Regions from separate parts of the Homo sapiens genome. Here region 1 is linked to region 2. Evidence: promoter capture Hi-C in 16 types of primary human blood cells and fetal thymus (Javierre and others, 2016). All regions are on one chromosome and are shown on one strand. The core of a region is centred on a gene start or on the middle of the fragment in contact, and the rest is flanking DNA. Distances in the headings are between cores, read along the strand shown.

Region 1 (5,144 bases), core at 2,567-5,066, 260 kb after region 2:
CCTTCCTTCCTTCCAAGGCAGGAGGATCACCTGAGGTCAGGAGTTTGAGATCAACCTGGCCAACATGGTGAAACTCTGTCTCTACTAAAAATGCAAAAATTAGCTGGGTGTGGCAGTGGGCGCCTATAATCCCAACTACTCGGGAGGCTGAGGCAGGAGAGTCGCTTGAACCCAGGAGGTGAAGGTTGCAGTGAGTCAAGATCGCGCCACTGCACTCCAGCCTGGGCCACAAGAGTGAAACTCCATCTCAAAAAAACAAAATAGACATTTGAGTTCTAAAAAACAGGCATTCTAGTTTGAAGATACTCCAACTAAAACTTCAATGAACATTCTTGTGCAGTTTTTTTTGTTTGTTTTCTTTAATATAGGGTCTCGTTGTGTCACCCAGGCCGGAGTGCAGTGGTGTGATCATGGCTCACTGTTGCTTCAACCTCCCCGGCTCAAGCGCTCCTTTCCTCAGCCCCATAAGTAGCTGGGACTACAGGTGCACACCACCATGCCCAGCTAGTTTTTGTATTTTTTTGTAGAGATGGGGTTTCGCCATGTTGCCTAGGCTAGCCTTACACTCCTGAGCTCAGGAGATCCTTCTGCCTCAGCCTCCCGAAGTGCTGGGATTACAGGCGTGAGCCACTGTGTCTGGCCTTCTTGTATAGGTTTTTTGATGGACATGTGCTCTTGTTTCTGTTGAGTATTTATCTAGGAGTGAAATTGCTGGTGGCTCTAGATTTAGCTTTGGTTTTCTAAAGTGGTTGAACCAATTTATACACCTCCCAGTAATGCATGAGGGTTCCAGTTACTCCCCGTTCCCACCAACATTCAGTATGGTTGTTGCTTCCCATCTTAGCCATTCTGGTGGCTGTGCAGTGATATCGCACTGAGGTTTCAATTTGAATATGCATATTTTATTATGAAAGTAATATATTTTTATATATGTAGAAAATTTAGGCCGGGAGTGGTAGCTCACGCCTGTAATCCCAGCACTTTGGGAGGCCAAGGTGGGTGGATCACCTGAGGTCAGGAGTTCGAGACCAGCCTGACCAACATGGAGAAACCCCGTCTCTACTAAAAATACAAAATTAGCCAGGCGTGGTGGCAGGTGCCTGTAATCCCAGCTACTCAGGAGGCTGAGGCAGGAGAATTGCTTGAACCTGGGAGGTGGAGGTTGCGGTGAGCCAAGATCGTGCCATTGCACTCTAGCCTGGACAACAAGAGTGAAACTCTGCCTCAAAAAAAAAAAAAAAGAAATGAAAAAGAAAAGAAAACTTAAAAAGTGCAGGAAAGAATAAACTAAATATCATTTGTACCCTATCATCCTCTCCCCTCCACCAAGCTCCATTGGATTGAAGTATTTATGTACAATGTTAAGGTTGTACTGATTTATACTTCCAGCATCCATGTATCCCTTTTTTATCCTGAACTGGGATTATTTTAAAAGTTGTCAATTTTGGTATCTCCTTATGGTTTTATTTATTATTTCTTTTATTTCTATTGAAATTGGACTTTAAAAAATTTTCAGGTGGTAGTGTGCACCTGAAGTCCTAGCTACTGGGGAGGCTGAGGCAGGAGAATTGCTTGAGCCCAGGAGTTCAAGGCTGCAGTGAGCTATGATTGCACCACAGCACTCTAGCCTGGGTGACAGAGCAATGTATATCAAATGTATTACATATTTTTTATTTATTATATTATATACATATACATTTTTATTGTTGTTGTTGTTTTCTTGAGACAGAGTTTCACTCTTGTTACCCAAGCTGGAGTGCAATGGTGAGATCTGTGCTCACTGCAACCTCTGCCTCCTGGGTTCAAGTGATTCTCCTGTCTCGGCCTCCCGAGTAGCTGGGATTACAGGCACGTGCCACCACGCCTGGATAATTTTTTGTATTTTTTTAGTAGAGTTGGGGTTTCACCATGTTGGCCAGGCTGGTCTTGAACTCCTGACCTCGTGATTTGCCTTGCCCTCCCAAAGTGCTGGGATTACAGGTGTGAGTCACCGTGCCCAGCATTATATATATATATATTTTAAAAGGCTGGGCGTGGTAGCTCACACCTGTAATCACAGCATTTTGGGAGGCTGAGGCAGGCTTGCTTGAGGCCAGGAGTTTGAGACCAGCCTGGGCAATGTAGTGAGTTTAAAAAAAATTTTTTTTAATTTTATTGCTCTTTATATTGTAGTGTATTTTATTTTATTTTATTTATTTTGAGATGGAGTCTCGCTCTGTCACCCAGGCTGGAGTGCAATGGCGTGATCTTGGCTCACTGCAACCACTGCCTCCCACGTTCAAGTAATTCTCCTGTCTCAGCCTTCTGAGTAGCTGGGATTACAGGCACGCACCACCATGCCGGGTTAATTTTTGTATTTTTAGTAGAGACGGGATTTCACTACGTTGGTCAGGCTGGTCTCGAACTCCTGACCTCATGATCTGCCCGCCTCGGCCTCCCAAAGTGCTGGGATTACAGGCGTGAGCCACCACACCTGGCCTATATTACCTTTTAAATAAATTGTCTCATTTCCTTTGATGAAACAGATTTTTATCATCACACCTAATGAAACAGCATAAAAAATAGTTTACATGGTAATCTCATAAATTAGTAGATATGCAAACATTCTAAATAAAATTTTAGCAATCAGAATATAGTATAAATTTTAATAAAGTATAATTTTTAAAGGAATTTTAAAGGTGTGGTAGCTCACACCTGTAATCCCAAAAGTGTGAGAGGCTGAGGCGCAAGAATCGATTGAGCTCTGGAGTTCCATACCTGGGCAACATAGCAGACCTCATCTGTACTAAAAATAGTCCCAGCTACTCTGGAAACTGAGGCGGGAGGATTGCTTGAGCTCGGGAGATTGAGATCAGTGCTATCATCATGCCACTGCAGTCCACCCTGGGTGACAGAGTAAGACCCTGTCTCAAAAAAGAAGAAAAAAAGAACATGTACTTTTTAACCAATTCTGTTTTTGAACTTATTTCAAATGGTCTTTCATTTTTGTTTTTCTGTCACTTATAAACATCCCCCACTAAAGCTCAATTTTCCACATAACCAATAATATTATTGGAAAAAATTCATATAATTATTTCCACAAATGCCAGAGGGAATTCTTCATGGAAACTCTCCCTAAAAGCAATAAAAGGTTGCCTCTTTAACATGACAAAAAGGCTCTATTGAAAACCAAAAGTCAAAATTACACTTAATGGAGAACATGAATTATTCCTCTTTAAAATAGGAACAAGACAAGGATATCTTATTACTACTATTCAACGTAGCTCTAAAAATTCTGACAAAGCTATTTGAGAAGAGAAAGAAAGATATACATAAAGAAAAGGAAGAAATAAAATGATCATGTTATGCAAATGAAATGAAAAGCACCTCAAAATTACTAGAGATAATAAATGAAGGCATCAAAGAAACAAGATATAATACAAATTAATTTAGGACAATTTTCCTCTTGATAATAGTGCATTTCTCATTTTTGTTCTTTCTTTCCATGCATCCCTTTCTGTTTTTATTCTTAAAGCTTCATGATTTTACAATTTATAAGTCCTGAACATTTTGTGTTAATCTTTTCTCAGATATTTTAAAGATTTTTTAATCGCTTTTATAAATGGAATTTTTTTTGACATTACATGTACTTTATTTTTCTTAAGTGTTTAAAATAAGGCATTTCGGCCAGGCACGGTCGCTCACGCCTGTAATCCTAGCACTTTGGGAGGCTGAGGCCTCCTCAGGTGGATCACCTGACGTCAGGAGTTCGAGATGAGCCTGGCCAACATGGTGAAGCCCTGTCTCCACTAAAAATACAAAAATTAGCTGGGCATGGTGGCATACACCTGTAATCCCAGCTACTTGGGAGGCTGAGGCAGGAAAATCGCTTGAACCCAGGAGGCGGAGGTAGCAATGATCCGAGATCGTGCCACGGAACTCCAGCTTGAGCAACAGAGACAGACTCTGCCTCAAAAAGAAAAAAAAAAAGGCATTTCTTTTGTAATCTAATTATAACATTTGCAGTTATTTGGAATTGTCTTTCATTTCTGTTTTTCTGTCACTTATAAACATCAGTCATTCACAATGACTAATGATAGAGGTACATCACGTAAGTATAGATGTAAAGTATTGTTTAAGAAAGCTTAGGTATTTATTTTTCGGGCTTTCATGTTGTTATGCTGTTCCTACTCTTCTTCTTCTTCTGTTTTTGTTTTGTTTTGTTTTGTTTTTTTGAGAAAGAGTCTTGCTCTGTTGTCCAGACTGGAGTGCAGTGGTGCAATCTTGGCTCACTGCAACCTCCGCCTCCCATGTTCAAGCGATTCTCCTGCCTCAGCCTCCTGAGTAGCTGGGATTACAGGCATGCGCCACCATGCCAGGCTAATTTTTGTATTCTTAGTAGAGACAGGGTTTTGCCATATTGGCCAGGGTGGTCTTGAACTCTGACCTCAGGTGATCCACCTGCCTCGGGCTCCTAAAGTGCTGGGACTACAGGTGTGAGCCACTGGGCCCAGCCTGTTCCCATTTTTCCATTGTTCTTCTCCTCCCCTCATTTTCTTTTTCTTTTTTTTTTCTTCTTTGAGACGGAGTCTCAGTCTGTCGCCCAGGCTGGAGTGCAGTGGCACGACTTGGCTCACTGCAACCTCCGCCTCCCGGGTTCACACCATTCTCCTGCCTCAGCCTCCCGAGTAGCTGCGACTATAAGCGCCTGCCACCACGCCCGGCTAAATTTTTTTTGTATTTTTAATAGAGACGGGGTTTCACTATGTTGGTCAGGCTGGTCTCGAACCCCTGACCTCTTGATCCACTCGCCTCGGCCTCCCAAAGTGCTGGGATTACAGGCGTGAGCCACCGCACCCGGACCCTCCTCTCATTTTCTTTTCTGGTGTCTTGAACCAGGTAACTGGGAGGCATATTAAGGGGTTTTAAATTTAGGTAATAAAACAAATCACTAGTTCCTGGTATACAGCACTAGATTTGGTTACAGAAGTTTTTGCTAACCATTACCTCTGGTTTCAGGCAGTTGTCAGGTGACTGGCCTCAGGATAACATATTGCTCTATGTATTGCTATGTGACAAACCACCCCAAAACTTCGTGGCTTCAGCAAAAATATGTGATTGTTGCTCATGGTTCTGTGGGTTGCTGGACTTAACCTGATAACTCT
Region 2 (5,501 bases), core at 98-2,597:
GCAGACAGTGACAGGGCGCCTGTCGCCCACACTCCACACTGTTTGCCATTCTCCAGCAGCATGGGGACCATTACTCAGCTCTGAGGGGAGCAGGAGCACTCTCCTCCGCTCCCCGGGGCTCCCCAGGAGGCAGACAACCCAGTTGCCAGAGTCAAGGACACACATAAAAGAGTAAAGGTGTTGAAAAATACAGTCGTCACCTTTGATATTGCTGTTCCATGCGGGGCGCGGCGAGGGTCTTATTCATTCAGCGGCTGTCGCTGGGCTTGTTTCTCCATTTGTCTGCTCTGTCTTTGGGGGTGGGGGACGAGTGTGTCATTTGAAGCAGTGACTCCTCCCTCCTCCCCCCAACACCTTCCCAAACACTGAGAATGGGGGGACTTTGAAGAAATACTGCCAGCAGGGGATGTGATTTTGGACCTCACAATCAAAGGGAAGGGACGAAAGGCCTGGGGAGGCTTGAGAGGGAGAGGAATGTCACCCCTGCCCAGAGGTGCTGAAAGCCAGGGCTCTTACACCCGAAAAGGCAACTCCTCCCTTCCCCCAGGATAATTGGAAACAGCCCTTCCTGCGCAGCGCCGGTTTGGGGTTGTAGGTACGCCCCTTCTTCTCCCAGCCCCGCTTCTCCCCCCAGCCATCTAGGAAAGACCCAAGTGTATCCCCTAAACTCTTGTTTTTCACTAACCCCCAGGTAACAACAGCACTTGGTCCATGGAGCAGTGACAAAAGAGACCCCAAGAGTGGGAGGTGCGCAGCCTGGGTTTGGTTTCTAGCTTTATCCCAGACTTCCTGTGTGACCTTGGGCAAGTCACGGGGCCTCCCTGAGCCTCAGTTTCCTCATCTCTGCAATGGGATCGTTAGCTCTGCCCCTCCCACTTCACACAGGTAGTCGTGACGATCAGCTCCGCCGCACTTTGTAAAGCGCCAAGCCTTCAAGGTTATTATTATTCTCTCCAAACCTGCCGGGAGCAGCGGTGTTGTTTTGGGATGGAGGAGGAGGCTGCGGGAGCGAAAGGGGTGGGTTCCTCGGGGTGGAGAGGGCGAGAGCCTTTCTGGATTCGAGAGAGGAAGATTCCAGCAGCTTGGGCGATCGGAGGGCAGGAGGGGAGCCGGGCAGAACTCAGCCGGAGCCAGAGGCTCGGAGAGACAAAGGGGGCGTGACAGCCCGCGCCGGGGGCTGAGGCGGGGCGGCGGGCGGGAGGTGCGCGAGGTGAGGGAGGTGTGGGGGGCGTGGGCCGCGGGATGCTGCCGCCCGCTCCGCCTCGAGCTCCAGCTCCGGTTTTTCCCTCCACCATCCTCTGCCCCTCCCCGCCTCTCCTTTAACTCCCCCCTCCTGGGCTCGGGACTGGTTTCCTCCCTTAGCCCGCTGCCCTCAATCCCAGCGAGGCTGGGGCTCCGGCTCGGCGCCCCCTTCCTCGCTCCCTGGTCCGGCGCCCCATGCCGCCCCCGCCCGGTCCCCGGCTCCCCCAGTCCCCCACTTAGGCGGGCTCACAGATCCCGGGGTGCTGGCGCGTGGGCCGGGGGCGCGTAGGGCGCCTGCAGACGGCCCCTGGAAGGGCTCTGGTGGGGCTGAGCGCTCTGCCGCGGGGGCGCGGGCACAGCAGGAAGCAGGTCCGCGTGGGCGCTGGGGGCATCAGCTACCGGGGTGGTCCGGGCTGAAGAGCCAGGCAGCCAAGGCAGCCACCCCGGGGGGTGGGCGACTTTGGGGGAGTTGGTGCCCCGCCCCCCAGGCCTTGGCGGGGTCATGGGGCCCCCCCATTCTGGGCCGGGGGGCGTGCGAGTCGGGGCCCTGCTGCTGCTGGGGGTTTTGGGGCTGGTGTCTGGGCTCAGCCTGGAGCCTGTCTACTGGAACTCGGCGAATAAGAGGTGAGTGGCCTGCGGCTGGGGAGATCCCAGACCCTAGGGCAGTGGGTAGGGAAGCTCTGGGGGCTTGGAGGCGGGCTTCTGTGGGCAGGGAGGAGGCGGGAGGGAAGGTGCTGGTGCTCTGATGTGTGATGGGTTACTAGACAGGTGATCTTGGGAGCCAGACTCCGGGTCCCACGCAGAGCTGGATGCGGGTGGTGCTATGGATGTCAGGAGTTTGGAGACCCCAAAGGGGCAAGGAGAAGAAAGTTCATGGGTAGCCGGGAGGGCAGTGAGGTGGGTATTTGGATCTGTGGGAGGCCTGCGTCGGGGGCTGGGCTTGGAGGGAGCCTGGTTACTGTCAGCTCTCAGGAGAGAGCTGCAGATTAGGTGCTGCGAGTCGCTGAGGGGAAGGCAGGGCAGGGTGCCTCCCTCCCCCAGAGGGACTGCGCATCCGAGATGGGAGGCAAGGGGGTTCCGTTTGGGGGCTCTGGGGACAACTTCCCCAAGGCTCCTTGACTCTCTTCACAGTCTGTCTCCCAACTCTTCCCCACAGCCAGAGGGTCAGTGAACTGTTGGCTGAACGATTTCCCAGCCAGAACATATTCCTGCCTTCCTGGCTTGCCGGCATCTTGCTGGAAGAAGCCTGGAGCCCCCTGAACCCTCCTTCCTTCCCTTTTGCATCTGGAGGACTCCATTGCCCCCTCCCCCAATCTTTGCTGCAAACTCTTCCATCAGACCCTCTGTTCCATGGCATGCCAGCTTTGCTCTGAAAAGAGGCCAGGGGTCAGATGAAACTTCAAGCCACGCTGGGTAGGACAGAACCTTCGGGAGGTCACCTGGGTCCCTTGCCTACATGCGGATCCCACTTCCCGCTCATAAAAGAGTTCTGTGTTTTGAAAAATTCCTACTTCCCTGGGGAGACTGTGTGAGGCCATGGGAAGGGGGTGGGCTTTGGAGCTCATCAAATCTTTGGTCTTAATCCTAGCTCTGCCGCTTTCAGCTGTGTGGCCTTGGGCATGTCACTTAACCTTTCTGAGTTTGTATCCTCAATCCTTACAGCTATTATGAGGATTAGCGGTAAGGTGTTTGAATGTATTATGTGCTCATTAAAGGAGAGCTAGGATTATTGTTCCTCTCTTTACTTCCCAGCCTCCCTCACACTTCTCTGCTCTGCCATCCCTCCCTCTCTTTTCCCTGGATCTCTTTGGGTATAATCTCAATGTCTTTTCTGTACTCAGTCACCCACCTGCCAACTCCCAGCTGCAATGTGAGTATCAGGTGTGTAGCTTGAGAACATAAGCTTGTTTTCACAGGGTAGAGAAAAGGGAGTTAGGGTGTCCTGGGGGCTCTTTCGGATGTGGGGTGGGAGTGGGACACTTGGGAGTCTGGGAAGATATCAAGTAGCAGTCCCCTGGGACCCAGTCCTGAGACCCTGTCTCAGCAGCTATTGATGTCCAGGAAGGGGCTGCAGGGGTTGGCAAGTTGTGGCTGTGCTGGGACAGTGGATGCCTGGGTGCACTGGCCAAGGAGATGGTGAAGTGTGTTGGTTGTGGTTAGAAAAGTCAACTCCTTTCCTTTCCAAAGCAATAGAGCACTTGCCCCAGAAGTCTAAGACCCAGTGTGGGATTCTGAGTGGGAGAATGACTCAGGCAGCAGGTTCCTAGACCCTGGTTCCCATCAGCCCCAATGATGGTCGTGGCCAAACCAGGCATTTGCCTTCTGTGCTATTAGCTGGCTAACTTAGGACACTGGTCTGGACCACCCTCCACACAGCCCCTCCCTGAACCGCCGCCCCCTTTGCCCGGAAATCCCTGAAATTCAGTGGTGGCCTGAAGGAGGGGAGGCTCTGCCCGCATGGTTGGCTGCCATGGAATAGTGAAATCACCTGGGAGGGGTGGGCTGTGTGGTTCCAGAGAGGCCAGCTCCTTGGTAACTGGCATCCTGTTGCCATGGCAACGGGGCTGGTGATGGAGCGGGAGATGGCGGTGTGCATGTGGTGAGGGCGGGCTGAAGAGTGGAGTGCATTTGGGCACACCAAGGGGCAGGAGACCCCTGAGCCTGGCTTCCTGCTGCTTCCAATGTGAATGCACAGAGTCCTTGGTGCCTGCTCTATAAGAAGAGACTTTCCACTCAGACAAAGGCGGGCAAGCGTGAGCTGAGAATTGCTGTCCTGGAAGGTTGTGGGGTGAGGGAAGGAAAGTTCTGGGGGCCAGGCCTCTGACATCTCTTCCTTGTCCACCTTACCCTCCTCCCCATAGGTTCCAGGCAGAGGGTGGTTATGTGCTGTACCCTCAGATCGGGGACCGGCTAGACCTGCTCTGCCCCCGGGCCCGGCCTCCTGGCCCTCACTCCTCTCCTAATTATGAGTTCTACAAGCTGTACCTGGTAGGGGGTGCTCAGGGCCGGCGCTGTGAGGCACCCCCTGCCCCAAACCTCCTTCTCACTTGTGATCGCCCAGACCTGGATCTCCGCTTCACCATCAAGTTCCAGGAGTATAGCCCTAATCTCTGGGGCCACGAGTTCCGCTCGCACCACGATTACTACATCATTGGTACTGCTGGGCAGAGGGCACGATTGAGTGGGGGGCTCCTGATACTGAGCAGAGAGGGAGGGGGACCCCTGCAGCCAAGAGGGAGATCCCAGTGCCCTCAGGCAGTGTTCACACCAGGGTGTGGGGCCAGAATCAGGGCTAGATTCTGGAGTGCCAACCTCTTCCTCTGGCTTTTCTCTCCCAGCCACATCGGATGGGACCCGGGAGGGCCTGGAGAGCCTGCAGGGAGGTGTGTGCCTAACCAGAGGCATGAAGGTGCTTCTCCGAGTGGGACAAAGTGAGTGGGGCTGGGGGACACCTCCTGGGCACGAAGGGACGTTGGGGCAGTACGATCATGGTTGGGGCAGTTGTCTCAGCCCCTCTCTGGGTCTTCCTCATCTCCAGGTCCCCGAGGAGGGGCTGTCCCCCGAAAACCTGTGTCTGAAATGCCCATGGAAAGAGACCGAGGGGCAGCCCACAGCCTGGAGCCTGGGAAGGAGAACCTGCCAGGTAGGAACCAGGGGCTAGGCCCCTGCCTTCCCCAGCTTCCTCTGCTCTCAGACCCCAGCTGCCCTGCCGTCACCCTCCCTCCCTCTTCAGTTTTGGGGGCGGTGATACAGGAAAGAGGAGAAGAGAGGATGGGAGGGTGGGAGGGGAATGGAAACCAAATGAGGAAAAGACTCAATTAGAACTAATTAGCCAAGTCAGTGCTTCAATCAGTGCTGTCAGAGAAGTGGGGAGGACTCCGTGGCAGGAAGCTGAAGGGCTGGACACCTGGATTCTGAGCAGAGTTCGGAGGGGGAGGAGAGATGGGGTCCCCAAGGGGCCTGGGCGCTACAAGGGAAGCCCATGGGGACCCCCAGGGTTGGGTGTCCAGGTGCCCAGGTGGCTCCTTCAGTCCCTCCCCCTCTTTCCTCCTTCACCCCTTCCCTGCCAGGTGACCCCACCAGCAATGCAACCTCCCGGGGTGCTGAAGGCCCCCTGCCCCCTCCCAGCATGCCTGCAGTGGCTGGGGCAGCAGGGGGGCTGGCGCTGCTCTTGCTGGGCGTGGCAGGGGCTGGGGGTGCCATGTGTTGGCGGAGACGGCGGGCCAAGCCTTCGGAGAGTCGCCACCCTGGTCCTGGCT

The links. Contacts are between HindIII fragments. The CHiCAGO score rates a contact against its expected background, and 5 or more counts as called.
Region 1: a fragment that was not itself captured here is called in contact with the fragment with the promoter of EFNB3 in region 2 in 2 of 17 cell types (endothelial precursors and activated CD4 T cells); the score reaches 6.1 in endothelial precursors.

Annotation. Positions count from the first base shown.
Region 1 is chr17:7,962,784-7,967,927 of GRCh38, forward strand. No RefSeq gene overlaps it. Among named protein-coding and RNA genes, the nearest start is that of CNTROB, 33 kb to the left of the region's middle. RefSeq lists a silencer at 5,055-5,144. The HindIII fragment of the contact is 609 bases long and covers 3,513-4,121 here.
Region 2 is chr17:7,703,855-7,709,355 of GRCh38, forward strand. EFNB3 (ephrin B3) reads left to right here and starts at 1,348. Exons shown (of 5, transcript NM_001406.4): 1 at 1,348-1,866; 2 at 4,104-4,396; 3 at 4,581-4,673; 4 at 4,781-4,885; 5 at 5,313-5,501. The coding sequence starts at 1,745. RefSeq lists a silencer at 1-31 and enhancers at 1-832, 1-41, 1,726-2,617. The HindIII fragment of the contact is 8,602 bases long and covers 1-3,143 here.